Linked DNA regions of Homo sapiens: region 1 is linked to region 2. The links are contacts of gene promoters, found by promoter capture Hi-C in blood cells and fetal thymus (Javierre and others, 2016). All regions are on one chromosome and are shown on one strand. Each heading gives the region's core, a stretch centred on a gene start or on the middle of the fragment in contact. The rest is flanking DNA. Distances are from core to core; before and after follow the strand shown. Region 1 has its middle 35 kb from the start of MARVELD2. Region 2 holds the start of MARVELD2 (MARVEL domain containing 2).

The links. Contacts are between HindIII fragments. The CHiCAGO score rates a contact against its expected background, and 5 or more counts as called.
Region 1: a fragment that was not itself captured here is called in contact with the fragment with the promoter of MARVELD2 in region 2 in 1 of 17 cell types (erythroblasts); the score reaches 6.2 in erythroblasts.

Annotation. Positions count from the first base shown.
Region 1 is chr5:69,446,815-69,453,452 of GRCh38, reverse strand. No RefSeq gene overlaps it. Among named protein-coding and RNA genes, the nearest start is that of MARVELD2, 35 kb to the right of the region's middle. The HindIII fragment of the contact is 7,883 bases long and covers 1-6,638 here.
Region 2 is chr5:69,409,667-69,417,073 of GRCh38, reverse strand. MARVELD2 (MARVEL domain containing 2) reads right to left here and starts at 1,958. Exons shown (of 7, transcript NM_001038603.3): 1 at 1,904-1,958. It overlaps RAD17 (RAD17 checkpoint clamp loader component), which reads right to left. Exons shown (of 19, transcript NM_133338.3): 18 at 6,524-6,581; 19 at 2,273-3,043. The coding sequence ends at 2,782. RefSeq lists enhancers at 415-1,297, 1,298-2,181. The HindIII fragment of the contact is 19,290 bases long and covers 1-7,407 here.

The DNA of each region.
Region 1 (6,638 bases), core at 1,528-4,027, 36 kb before region 2:
TTTTTTTTTTTGAGACAGGGTCTCCCTCTGTCACCCAGGGTGGAGTACAGTGGCATGAACACGGCTCACTGCACCCTGGACCTCCTGGGCTCAAGTGGTCCTCCTGCCTCAGTCTCCCCAGTAGCTGGGCTCACAGGCGTGCGCCACCACACCCAGCTTATTTTTAATGATTTTTTTTTTTTTTTTAGAGGAAGTCTTGCTCTGTCGCCCAGGCTGGAGTGCAGTGGTGCAATGTTGGCTCACTGCAAGCTCCACTTCCCGGGTTCACACCATTCTGCCACCTCAGCCTCTCAAGGAGCTGGGACTACAGGCGCCCGCCACCACGTCTGGCTAATTTTGTTTTTGTTTTTTTTAGTAGAGATGGGGTTTCACCGTGTTAGCCAGGATGGTCTCGATCTCCTGACCTCGTGATCCACCCGCCTCAGCCTCCCAAAGTGCTGGGATTACAGGTGTGAGCCACCAGGCCCGGCCTTAATGATTTTTTTTTTTTTAGAGATGGGTCTTGCCATGTTGCCCAGGCTAGTCTCAAACTTCTAGGCTCAAGTGATCCTCCCACCTCAGCCTCCGAAAGTGTTTATTATTTTATTTAAAGGGCTTATCTGGAGTTGAAATAGCCACAAACAAAAACAAACAAACAAAAACAAGGAAAGAAAGAAAAAGAAAAAAAGCTAAAAGGCTTATTAACTGATTTATTTTGGTAAAATTTTAAGTAGTTTTCCTTCCTCTTATTCGGAATATATGTTGAATTATTATAATGAGATAACTAGATAAAAATAATTTTCTATAACATTAGATATAACCAATCTTTGTGTTGCTGTTTTGAAAAGGTCAGGTTTTGTTAGCATGGTGCTTCAGTTATTTGCGATATTTATGAAACTATCTCAAAATTCAAATGCTTGTATCTTATCTTCTAAAAGCTCAGGGAAACTAGACTGCAAACAGGGCAAAGGTTGCAGCATGAAAGTAAATATTTAGATTGCCTCTTAACTCTGCCAGGTGTAATATTCCTGTAAAATAGTGATACCGAAACCAGCTCTGGAGATGGAAAGTATAATCAGGAGGTTTGTTTTATAATAATTTTAATACCGTTGTCCCAAGTATTTGTTTCTGATAACTACTTTCCTATTTTCTTACTCAATATTTATACCTGAATCCCCATTCTCCCAGTTCTCTGAATGAGCTCTCCCATCATATATTCCTAATTTCATTCACATGTCCCACAACAGTTTCACCAAGTATGTGTTCTATTTTCTTCAGAATCTTTTGACCTAGAGGATCTGTGAATGATTAACTGAAGCACTCCCTACCCACTGCTACAAACCAAAAACACGTGTGAAACCTGTCTCTTCCATTTTCTTTCTTCCTTCCTTCCTTCTTTCCCTTACCTTCCCCTTCCTTCCTTCCTTCCTTCCTTCCTTCCTTCCTTCCTTCCTTCCTTTCTTTTTTTCTCTCTCTCTCTTTCTTTTTTTTTCTTGAGATGGAGTCTCACTCTGTCTCTCAGGCTGGAGTGCAGTGGCATGATCTTGGCTCACTGCAACCTCTGCCTCCCAGGTTCAAGCGATTCTCCTATTTCAGCCTCCCGAGTAGGTGGGATTACAGGCATCTGCCACCACACCCAGCGAATTTTTGTATTTTTAGTTGAGACCAGCGTGACCAACATGGTGAAACCCATGTTGGTCACGCTGGTCTCTAACTCCTGACTTCAGGTGATCCATCCACCTCGGCCTCCCAAAGTGCTGGGATTACAGGCATGAGCCACTGCGCCCAGCTGTTTCTGCCATTTTCTACCCAATTTATGGACACCCAGGTTTGGAGTACAGAGGACAAGTACCAAGCACAAGGCTTGGGTACTGGGTACCCAGAAAACACAGCTGCAGGTCTCAAAGGAGTCTTGGCCTTGTTGCTTGACTTCTATACTTTTAATTTTTTTGTGACCTACTATACTTATCTGGCCAGCCCAACCAGCAGTCCAACAGTAACATCTGTTGACCTAAACTCCACCATCATTAAGCCCCCTATCAGATTATATTATTTTTGTATCCAAAGATAATTTAGCTGAGATTATTTTCTGGCATATATTTTTACAACTCTTCTGATGAACAAACAGATGGATTTAGCCAAGTTCAAAACTAAATCAAATTCAAAATATATAAAGAACTCCTACAACTGAACAACAAAACGACCACAACCCAATTTAAAAATGGGCAATGACCAGCCGGGCATGGTGGCTCACGCCTATAAATCACAGCACTTTGGGAGGCCGAGGCGGGTGGATCACGAGGTCAGGAGATCGAGACCATCCTGGCTAACACGGTGAAACCCCATCTCTACCAAAAATACAAAAAAATTAGCCGGGCATCGTGGCACACACCTGTAGGCCCAGCTACTCAGGAGGCTGAGGCAGGAAAATCATTTGAACCCGGGAGGCGGAGGTTGCAGTGAGCCGAGATCGTGCCACTGCACTCCAGCCTGGGTGACAGAGTGAGGCTCCACCTCAAAAAAAAAAAAAAGGGCAATGGATTTGAATGGCCATTTTTCAAGGAAGATGTACACATGGCCAGTAAGTACGTGAAAAAAATGCTGAACATCACTAATCATTAAGGAAATTCAAACCATAATGAGATACCACTTCACATCTATTAGGATGGCTATTTATTTATTTATTTATTGAGACAGTCTTGCTCTGTCGCCCAGGCTGAAGTGCTGTGGCGCAATCTAGGCTCACTGCAACCTTTGCCTCCCAGGTTCAAGTGATTCTCCTGCCTCAGCCTCCTGAGTAGCTGGGATTACAGGCATGCACCACCATGCCCAGCTAATTTAGTATTTTTAGTAGAGACGAGGTTTCACCGTGTTGGCCAGGCTGGTGTCAAACTCCTGACCTCAAGTGATCCGCGTACCTCGGCCTCCCAAAGTGTTGGGATTACAGGTGTGAGCCACTGTGCCTGGCAGTATGGCTATTTATTAAAAGAGAGAAAGAGAAAATAACAAGTGTTGGCAAGGATGTGGAGAAATTGAAACCCGCATGCATTGCTGGTGGGAATGTCACAAAGAGGAAGAGGAATTTCTACAGTACAGTCATTCAGTACCAATTTCTCCTCTTGAGAATAGGCAGAAATCAAGGAACTGTAGGGAAACAGTGACTCTCTGAAATTGACTCATGAGTTACTCATGGACATTTGGCACATTGACATCAAACACCTACCATAATGTTGTTCTTACAGTATGTAATCTCTCATATTCTCTAATTTCAAACCCTTAGCCCTGAGGGTTTCTTTCTTTTTTTTTTTTTTTTTTCTGAGATGGAGTTTTGCTCTGTCACCCAGGCTGGAGTGCAGTGGCGCGATCTCGGCTCACTGCAAGTTCCACCTCCTGGGTTCACGCCATTCTACTGCCTCAGCCTCCTGAGTAGCTGGGACTACAGGCGCCTGCCACCACGCCTGGCTAATTTTTATTTTTTTTTTTGTATTTTCAGTAGAGACGGGGTTTCACTGTGTTAGCCAGGATGGTCTCGATCTGCTGACCTTGTGATCTGCCCACCTCGGCCTCCCAAAGTGCTCGGATTGCAGGCGTGAGCTACCGCGCCCGGCCAACCCTGAGGGTTTCTAAGAAAATCCTGGATATCACTATAAACTCTAAGAACAGTGGCCGACTGTTTTCACCACATTGCTGCATCTGGGCAGCTATATCACATGGCAGGCACCTTCCAAATACTTGGGAAGCTAGTTCTGAGTAACTTTGTCTTTTAACTTGGCTTTGCCCTTCAGCAATAGCAATCCGCAGAGTACCCTTGAATATTAACACTGGCAGGCTTACTGGTCACAAACAAGATTTAAATTGGGAAGGGCTACTATTGTTCACACATTAACTAACAGCATTTTCCCCACGTGTCATACATCCTTCAGCCTCCTGCCCTATACACAAAGGGAATTCATAGGCATGAATGCAATTATGTTGAATAAAAGCATTTAAACAGGTATAAATCAGGCCCATTCACTTGCAGACTTTTTGTTTTAGAACCACTCATAGGGGAAAAGGGGACGAAATGGTTATATCTACCATCTTAGATGTGGGGTTTGGCTTCAAGTCATACACACACACACACACACACACACACACACACACACACAGGCTTGGGTTTCAAATATGGCTCATGAAGCCAATAGTTGTAAGATTTTTGTTTCTCCAGAACTTTGTAAATGTTTTCCAAAGATCACTAGAACACTACAGGCAGTTCCCAATTTATGAAAGCATTGTATTCTTAAATTTACATTTTTTTGGCCAGGCGCGGTGGCTCACGCCTGTAATCCCAGCACTTTGGGAGGCTGAGGTGAGTGGATGACCTGAGGTCAGGAGTTCGACAACAGCCTGGCCAACATGGTGAAACCTCATCTCTACTAAAAATACAAAAATTATCCAGGTGTGGTGGCTCACACCTGTAATCTCAGCTACTCAGGAGGCTGAGGCAGGAGAATCACTTGAACGCAGGAGGCAGAGGTTGCAGTGGGCCGAGATCACACTACTGCACTCCAGCCCAGGCGAGGGAGTGAGACAGTGTCTCAAAACAACAACAACAACAACAACAACATTACTTAAAAAAAAACTGTGAACATACTTTTGTTCAAACATGTATACAGTATAATTGTTAGAAATTGAGGGCCAAGCACGGTGGCTCACGCCTGTAATCCCAGCACTTGGGAGGCCAAGGCGGGCAGATCTGGAGGTCAGGACTTCGAGACCAGCCTGGCCAACATAGTGAAACCCCGTCTCTACTAAAAATACAAAAAATTAGCCGGGCATGGTGGCAGGCGCCTGTAATCCCAGCTACTCGGGAGGCTGAGGCAGGAGAATCGCTTGAACCTGGGAGGCAGAGGTTGTAGTGAACTGAGATCGTACCATTGCACTCCAGCCCTGGCAACAGTGCAAAACTCCGTCTCAAAAAAAAAAAAAAAATTTGAGATATACCAGCCTGGGCAACATGGAAACCCCATCTCTTAAAAAAAAAAATTAGCTGGGCGTGGTAGCTTGCTCCTGTGGTCCCAGCTGCCCAGCTGCTCCGGAGTCTGAGGCTGGAGGGCTGCTTGAGCCTGGAAAGCAGAGGTTGCAGTGAGTTGAGATCACATCACTGCACTCCAGCTTGGGAGACAGAGCAAGACCCTGTCCAGGCGCAGTGGTTCACACTTGTAATCCCAGCACTTTGGGAGGCCGAGGTGGGTGGATCACTTGAGGCTAGGAATTCGAGATCAGCCTGACCAACATGGTGAAACCCCGTCACTACTAAAAATACAAAAATTAGCTGGGCGTGGTGGCTCACACCTGTGATCCCACCTACTCGGGAGGCTGAGGCAGGAGAGTCACTTGAACTCTGGAGGTGGAGGTTGCAGTGAGGCGAGATTGCGCCACTGCACTCCAGCCTGGGCAACAGAGAGAGACTCCGTCTTAAAAAAGAAAAAAAATTGAGGTAAAATACATGTATAATATATGTACAGTAAAAGGCACCAATTTTAAATGCTTAGCTTGATGGATTTTTAAATATGTATATATCCTGGTAAGCAACGAACCAGATGAAGGTATAGTACCCAGAAAGCTCCCTCATGCTCCTTCCCAGCCAATAAACCTCTCTCACAGGTAACCCCTATTCTGAATTCTATCATCAGAGGTTGGAGTTTCAAAATAACTTTCTTTTTTTTTTTTTTTTTCCGAGACTGAGTCTTGCTCTGTTGCCCAGGTTGAAGTGTGGTGGCGCGATCTCGGCTCACTACAAGCTCCGCCTCCCGGGTTCACGCCATTCTCCTGCCTCAGCCTCCCGAGTAGCTGGGACTACAAGTGCCCGCAACCAAGCCCAGCTAAATTTTTTGTATTTTTAGTGGAGACGCGGTTTCACCATGTTAGCCAGAACAGTCTCGATCTCCTGACCTCTTGATCCGCCTGCCTCAGCCTCCCAAAGTACTGGGATTACAGGCGTGAGTCACCGCACCTGGCCTCTCTTCTTTCTTTCCTTCCTTCCTTCCTTTCTCTCTCTCTCTCTTCCCTTCCTTCCTTCTTTTCTTCTTTTTCTTTCTTCTTTCTTTTCTTCTTTCTCTTTCTTTTCTCTTTCCCTCCCTCCCTCCCTTCCTCTCTCTTTCTCTCCTTCCTTCTTTCTCTTTCTTCTTTCTCTTTCCCCCTCCCCTCCCCTCCCCTCCCCTCCCCTCCCTTCCCTTCCCTTCCTTCTGCAGAGTCTTACTCTGTCACCCAGGCTGCAGTGCAGTGGCATGGTCTCAGCTAACTGCAACCTCCACCTCCTGGGGTCAAGCAATTCTCATGCCTCAACCTCTCGAGTAGCTGAGATTACAGGCGTGCACCACCACACCAGGCTAATTTTTGTACTTTTTTTTTTTTTTTTCTGAGACAGAGTCTTGCTCTGTCGCCCAGGCTGGGGTGCAGTGGCACGATCTCAGCTCACTGCAACCTCCACCTCTGAGGTTCAAGCGGTTCTCGTGCCTCAGCCTCCCGGGACTACCTCCAGGGACTACAGTGTGCGACAACACGCCCAGCTAATTTTTGTATTTTCAGCAGAGAAGGGTTTTTGCCATGTTGGCCAGGCTGTTCTCAAACTCCTGGCTTCAAGTGATCCACCCACATCAGCCTCCTAAAGGGCTGGG
Region 2 (7,407 bases), core at 709-3,208:
AGGCATGGAAGCTACTGTGGCAGCAGCAAAGTGGGTAAGAAGGTGAATAGTAGAACTGAGGCCATCTGAATCATGTAGGGCCTTGAAAACCACTGGAAAGAAAGGACTTTGTCTTTTGCTAGGAGTGAGATGAGAAGCCACTGGAGGATTCTGAATAGAGGAGTGACATGACTTGACTTGTTTTAACAGTATCACTATGGATGCTGTGTTGAGAGTACACTCCAGAAGGCAAGAGGTAAAACAGGAAGACTGGCTAGGCCATTGAAATAATCCAATGGATCACTGAGATCTTGAGAAGAGGTCAAATGCTAGACAGGTATTTAAAATTTTTATTATAGAATTTTTCAAACATAATAAAAAGTAGAAAGAATAGCATTATGAACCCTTGTGTACCCACATCCAGCTTCTACACTTATCGATTTATGGCCAAACTTGTTTCATTTATACTCCCCATACTATTTCCTCTGCCAATAGAGTCCTCTGAAGTAAACCCCAGACATCTGATCATTTTATCTATCTATACCTCATTCTCCACCCCTCCAGCTTAGCCTTGGGGAGCAGCAGACTGAAGAGTGTTTCAGATGCGTTAAAAATCCAGGTAGAGACGTTAAGAGGGCAAGCAAGGCACACAGGGTATGTACAGACTGGAGACAAGGGAATGCGGTGGAAACCCAGGGTCTTCTAATAGGGCACTCCGACCTTAGAGGATTAACTGTGATGGCCCCAGCAGGGTGCCCAATGCAAAGCGGCTCTGTATATTATAACAATCAGTTATTTTTGTACCTTTCTCTTTCTTTCTCTAAAAAAGTGTAAGTTCTAGAAATGCTATTACGACTCTAGTTTTTGAAACACATTCCTAAGAAATGTAGAAGCAAAAGCACAACAAATGATTTTAGCAAGTTTTACACAGCATTTACAGGATACGCTATGCTTAATTCAACTCACTGGTAAAAATACGATTCACTGTAATGGATTTAACTCTTCACCTGTGAAGTGGCTTATTTGAATCAAACCACCCTATCCATTTTTAAAGAAAAAACAAGCAATTATTAAAGAGTTGTGGAAAAGCAAGATAATGTGATTTTTAGAAGGGAATGGTTAGCTGTATTTCATTACATCTTAAATATCTGGATACCCCTAATGTCTTTCAAGATGTCACTGAGAGTTCGTTCTGGTCCCGCAGGTCGCGGCAGCGTGTGTCTTTGTCCTGCTCAGGCCCCGGACCCTTACTCCACTCTTGGACACTCATCTTGGAAAGCCGCGGCAATGGCAGGAGAAATGGCTGCCCCAGCAAAGTGTCACAGGAATCATGCCTGGTCACCTTTACACAAACAGAACCACCGGTTTACCTGGCTTAAAAGTTTTGCTGGACCCAAGAAACGGGTAGATTTCGGATACTTCTGCGCTTCCGAGGGGTCGGGAAAGGCTCTGCGGTTCTAACTAACCCACGACTGCCCGGGGGTACCGAGCATTTTAGCTGTGGGGTCTCCCCCGCGCCAGCCTCTGGGCGCCCGGTCCCACAAATCTCATTGTGTCCTCGGTTCTGCCCGCGCCGGCTAGGCGTTCGTCTTCGCGTTTCTGGCTGAAACCCACTGTCTTTGGAGATTCCGACCCAACGAGGCCGAAACTAAGCCGGGAGACCTCCCAGGTAAGGAGCACCGAGATCGCCCCGAGGTGCGCGCCCCGCCCCGCGCCCGGAAGGACGGCGGCTCGGCCGCACCTGCGTCCGCAGAGCGAAACCTGGCGGGACGCGGGCCTCCCCGGATCCCTGGCTCCGGCCTCCCCCGCGGGCTATGGCAGGCTGAGCGCCGAGCGCGGGCAGCCGTCCGTCGCAGCACACCTGGGCCGGGGGCCGCCGGGCCCTCCTCTCCCGGTCACGTGGCCCCACCCCGGTCCCACTTACCTGCGCAGCCGCCAGGAAGAGCGCGCACGCTGCCCAGGACTCTGAAACCGGTATCGGGCTCCCGGGGTGGGGGCGGGGCCGGGACGGGACGAGCCCAGCTTTCCCCGCCCGGCTTTGCCCCGCCCGGATCTGTCGGCCCGACAACCGCTCTGGGCCCAGGCTGCTCGGTGCCACCAGCCGGCACGTCGCGGCAATGACCACACACTGGGCTCTTTTGGAAAGAGTTTACAGTTCTCATCGCAACGTTGCCATCCTCTTCCCTATCTTTTGAAAAGTTTGACACTGGGGGAGGGAGATTGGTGCACTGTGCTTAAGGACCCATGGCAGCGAGTGCGTGCTAGATAATGTTAAAAGACAGGAGAAACAAAATTAAATTCAACATTTTAATTGTGATATAACTTATGTAAATACTTTCCAAAAAGTATCTAAGATATTCCACTGTACAACACATCAAAACTATCTGAGAAGCGGGAGACAATAAAGTGTAAATAAGGCACACAGTTTACACTCGTAATTGCATCCTAAACTGTTGAATAGTTGATATTTACAACCCCCCAATAACGTTTTTGCATCCTGAATTAGTCCTTCACATCTTGATATTTGGCATAATGTTCAAACACACTTTATACACACTGACCGCTCCTTAAACCACTCACAGATTTAATAAATACCGAAAAAATTAAGAGATTTGAAGGCTTGATCTTCTATTTACTTCAAGATGACAGAAGAGTAGGTTTCTTGTGATGAAATACTACAAGAATGAAGAATTAACAAACTGTTGTGTAATTCATCAGAAAAGCATATTAACTCTGCTGAAGTACCACTGAATGAAACAAAAATGAAGCTGTGAAGTAGCAATCTGATTAGCAGGCTGGCTTCTATGTCCCATCACTCTCGTAGTCTTCTATTATTATGTTTTCTTCCATGTCTCCTTGGGCTGAAAAGGGCTGGGGCTGGCTAGCAGGCAGTTCACTGGCACTATTCTGACTCAAAGGAAGAGACCAGGTTTCCGGCACAGTGGCTTGAGTGGGTTCACCCAGAGATTCCTCTGCAGAATGTCCTCCATTAAGCTGGGCTTCATCTCCGCTGTCAGGGTCTATCATTCCATGTTCCCTGTCAGTCAGGGCTTCCATTTTCAATCTGTCAGATTCACAGTGCAGGCATTAATAAGAACCAAAGGAGAAGATTTTTAAATTACACCATGAGTGTGATGATTATGAAGCCATCTTTCATTTACCTACATTGTGCTGTTTAGCTAGTCCCTTTAACTATAAAAACAAAACTACAAGGTAAATGACAAACTGAATAAGTTCCTACAACTTAAAATACAAAAAGGAGCTGAACACGATGGCTCATGCCTGTACTATCTGCACTGTGGGAGGCCAAGGCAGGCAGATCACTTGAGGCCAGGAGTTCAAGACCAGCCTGGCCAACATGGCAAAAACCCATCTCTATTGAAAATAGAAAAATTAGCCAGGCGTGGTGGCACGCATCTGTAATCCCAGCTACTCAGGAGGCTGAGGCAGGAGAATTGTTTGAACCCAGGAGGCAGAAGCTGCAGTGAGCCAAGCTCGTGCCACTGAACTCCAGCCTGTACGACAGAGCAAGACTCTGTCTCCAAACAAAAAACAAACAAACAAAAAAACCAAACCAAACCACAACAACAAAAACACCTAAAAATAAAAAGAAATAATGTCTTCAGTAAAGAATTTTTCTTTTTTCTTTTTTTTCATTGAGACTGTCTTTCTCTATCGCCCAGGCAGGAGTGCAGTGGTGCAATCTCAGTTTACTGCAACCTCTGCCTCCCAGGTTCAAGCGATTCTCCTGCCTCAGCCTCCCAAGTAGCTGGGATTACAGGCACATGCCATCATGCCCAACTAATTTGTATTTTTAGTAGAGATGGGGTTTCACCATGTTGGCCAGGGTAATCTTGAACTCCCGAACTCAGGTGATCCATCTGCCTCCGCCTCCCAAAGTGCGGGGATTACAAGTGTGAGCCACCACACCCAGCCTTCAGTAAAGAATTTTTACAAATTAAAAAGGAAAAAATGAAATAGAAAAATGGGCACAAACATGGACAACTTATAAAACAAATACAAATGGTTCCTAAATTGTTAAATCTAATTTGTAATTTTAAAAATGAAAATTAACATAATGAGCTACTACTGTCATCTTTTTTTTTTTTTGAGACAGTCTTGCTCTGTCACCCAGGCTACAGGGCAGTAGCACGATCTTGGCTCACTGCAACCTCCACTTCAGGTTCAAGCGATTCTCCTGTCTCAGCCTCTGGAGTAGCAGGGATTACACGCGGGCACCACCACACCCAGCTAGTTTTTGTATTTTTAGCAGAGATAGGGTTTCACCATGTTGGCCAGGCTGGTCTCGAACTCCTGACCTTAGATGATCCACCCACCTCAGCCTCCCAAAGTGCTGGGATTACAAGCATGAGCCACTGCGCCTGGCCTATTACTGTCATCTTCTAAACTGGCAAAGATACTTTTAAAACCCAGTGGTGGCAAGGGTTAGGAGAAAAGAACATACTGATACACTGTAAGTGGATACAAAACTGGCAAAATATTCTTGCCAACAATTTGGCAATAAAGAGGAAAAGCCCCAAAAGGTATATACCTATTGATCCAGCAATTTCATTTGTAGGAATTCACCCTAAGTAAATAGTATTTGAAGTGCATGATGACTTATCTATAAGGCTGGGATAGTAAAAGCTGAAAAAAAGCTAAATGGGCAAAAATAACGTGTAGGTTGAATTACAGGAAATTAAACACCTATTAAATATTAAGTATTAATATTTAATACTAAATACTAAACATATGAACAATGGTTTTAAATATGGTCAACATAAATAAAAGATAGTACCAGTCATTGTAATATATAGCACTGAAAATACTGCCTCTCGTGGCCAGGCGTGGTGGCTCACGCCTGTAATCCCAGCACTTTGGGAGGCCGAAGTGGGCGGATCACGAGGTCAGGAGATCAAGACCATCCTGGCTAACACAGTGAAACCCTGTCTCTACTAAAAATACAAAAAATTAGCTGGGCGTGGTGGCGGGCGCCTGTAGTCCCAGCTACTCGGCAGGCTGAGGCAGGAGAATGGTGTGAGCCCAGAAGGTGGAGCTTGCAGTGAGCCGAGATCGTGCTACTGCACTCCAGCCTGGGCGATAAAGCTAGACTCCGTCTACAAAAAAAAAAGAAAAGAAAATACTGCCTCTCAAGTCACATCAAGTAGGTAGTTGAACCAATAATAAAATAGTGAAGATTCTCATTCAATTTAGCCTTGTGTAAATTGCAGCAACTCAATACATCTCAGGAGCAAAAATACAATAGAACATACTTGTCTTTATTTTGATGCCATAATCTTAGGGGGTTGGGGAGAGAAGCCATCAAAGAGACTTGGTCCTGCTTTCATTCAGAGGGATGTGAGAAGAAAAGCAGTGTTTATGAAATGTGTAAGCCCTGATCACATCCCAGTGGGACGATGCTTCAAGATCCATCCATCATGGTCTTTCTGCGATAGGAAAGATGGGCCCCACATAGCTAAGCCAGTATACAGAAAAAAACATTAACACTACAAAGGCCTTAATGAATCTTGGAGGGTAAAGAGGGGGAAAAAGCTCACATCACAGGAGTTTTCCATTTGGGACCAGAAATAGGAGAAAAGGTAGGAGGAGTCAGAGGTGCCATTTCTATCACTTACTTTTGTCCATGCATTCAGTAAGCAAGATTTTTTTAAATCTTTTTTTTGAGATGGAGTTTTGCTTTTGTTGCCCAGGCTGGGGTGCAATGGTGTGATCTTGGCTCACTGCAACCTCCACCTCCTGGGTTGAAGCGATTCTCCTGCCTCAGCCTCCTGAGTAGCTGGGATTACAGGCATGTGCCACCACACCCAGCTAAATTTTGTATTTTTAGTAGAGACACGGTTTCACCATGTTGTCCAGGCTGGTCTTGAACTCCTTATCTCAGGTGATCCACCTGCCTCGGGCTCCCAAAGTGCTGGGATTACAAGCATAAGCCACCACGCCCGGCCATTTTTAAAATCTTTAAACAATTCCTAAGTGCTTAATTCGATCTTACAAATAAGCTAAGTCAAACTGAAATATAAGTTTTGTGTTAATCACTGATAATGGCACAGAAGCTACTTTCCAATAAAATGAACAGTATATATATATATATATATATATATATATATAGACAGACATCTATTTTTTGCTTGTTTAAATTTTCTAAAATAAGAAAATATGAAGGACTCTTCTACTTTCTGAGGCAGTTCCTAGTCACTGCAGGTCTTCAAGCATAGGCTAAGAACATCTCTCAACAGGAAAGCTGGCAAGGGGTTTCTAGATTTGTTGAGTTGGAGGATTTTAAAGATTCCTCTGCCTTTGTGATTCCATGCTTCCATTTAATCTGGTATAGTCCATTGGGAGTGGGTGAAGATATGCTGTTATATTTAAGAAAAGGAAGGGTCTACAATACAATTATGTTTATAAATTACTAGGTACAGTATGTCTTTCTTGGATGTTACAGGTAACAGTTATTGATTCATACTGAACATATTCAGTAGACATTTCATTATCAGCTTTTTGGAAATTGAGATGATCAGCTTACCTTCCAAAGTGTCGCTTCAGAGGGAGCCTTCCAATATCTTGGATAAAAGAAATCTGAGCTGAAACAGATTTTTTAAAAGTTGTAAACAATTTTCCAAAGAAAATATACAAATGGCCAATAAGCACCTGAAAAGATGCTGAACATCACTAATCTTTAGAGAAATGCAAATCCAAGCCATAGTGAGATACCAATTCACATCTATTAGGATGACTGTTACAAAAAACCAGAAAACAAGAAGTGTGGGTAAGGATGTGGAGAAGCTGGAACCCTTGTGCATTGCTCATGGGAATGTAAAATGGTGTAGCTGCTGTGGAAAACAGTATAGTGCATCCTCAAAAAATTAAAAATGGAATTATTGTATGATCTAACAATTCCACTTCTGGGTATATACCCAAAATAATTAAAAACAGAGTCTCAAAAAGATATTTGTATGCCCATGTTCATATCAGCATCAACAATAATCAATGGGTGGAAGCAACCCAAGTGTCCATCAACAGATGAATGGATAACCAAATATGGTATATACATCTCATGGAATATTACTCAGCTTTAAAAAGGACACATGCTCCAACACAAATGAACTGCGATGACATCATTCTAAGTGCAACTAGTCACAAAAGAACAAATATTGTATGATTCCACCTATATGAAGTATTTAGAGTCATAAATTCATAGAGACAGAAAGTAGAATGGTGGCTGCCAGGGGGAAGGGAAAATGGGGAATTAATGCTAATAGTTATAGAATTTCAGTTTTGCAAGAAGCAAAAGTTTCGGAAACTGGTTGCAGAACAAGGTGGATATACTTAACACTACTGCACTGTAGAATTCAAAATGGTTAAGATGATAAACTTTATGCTTTGTATACTTTATCACAATTAAAAATG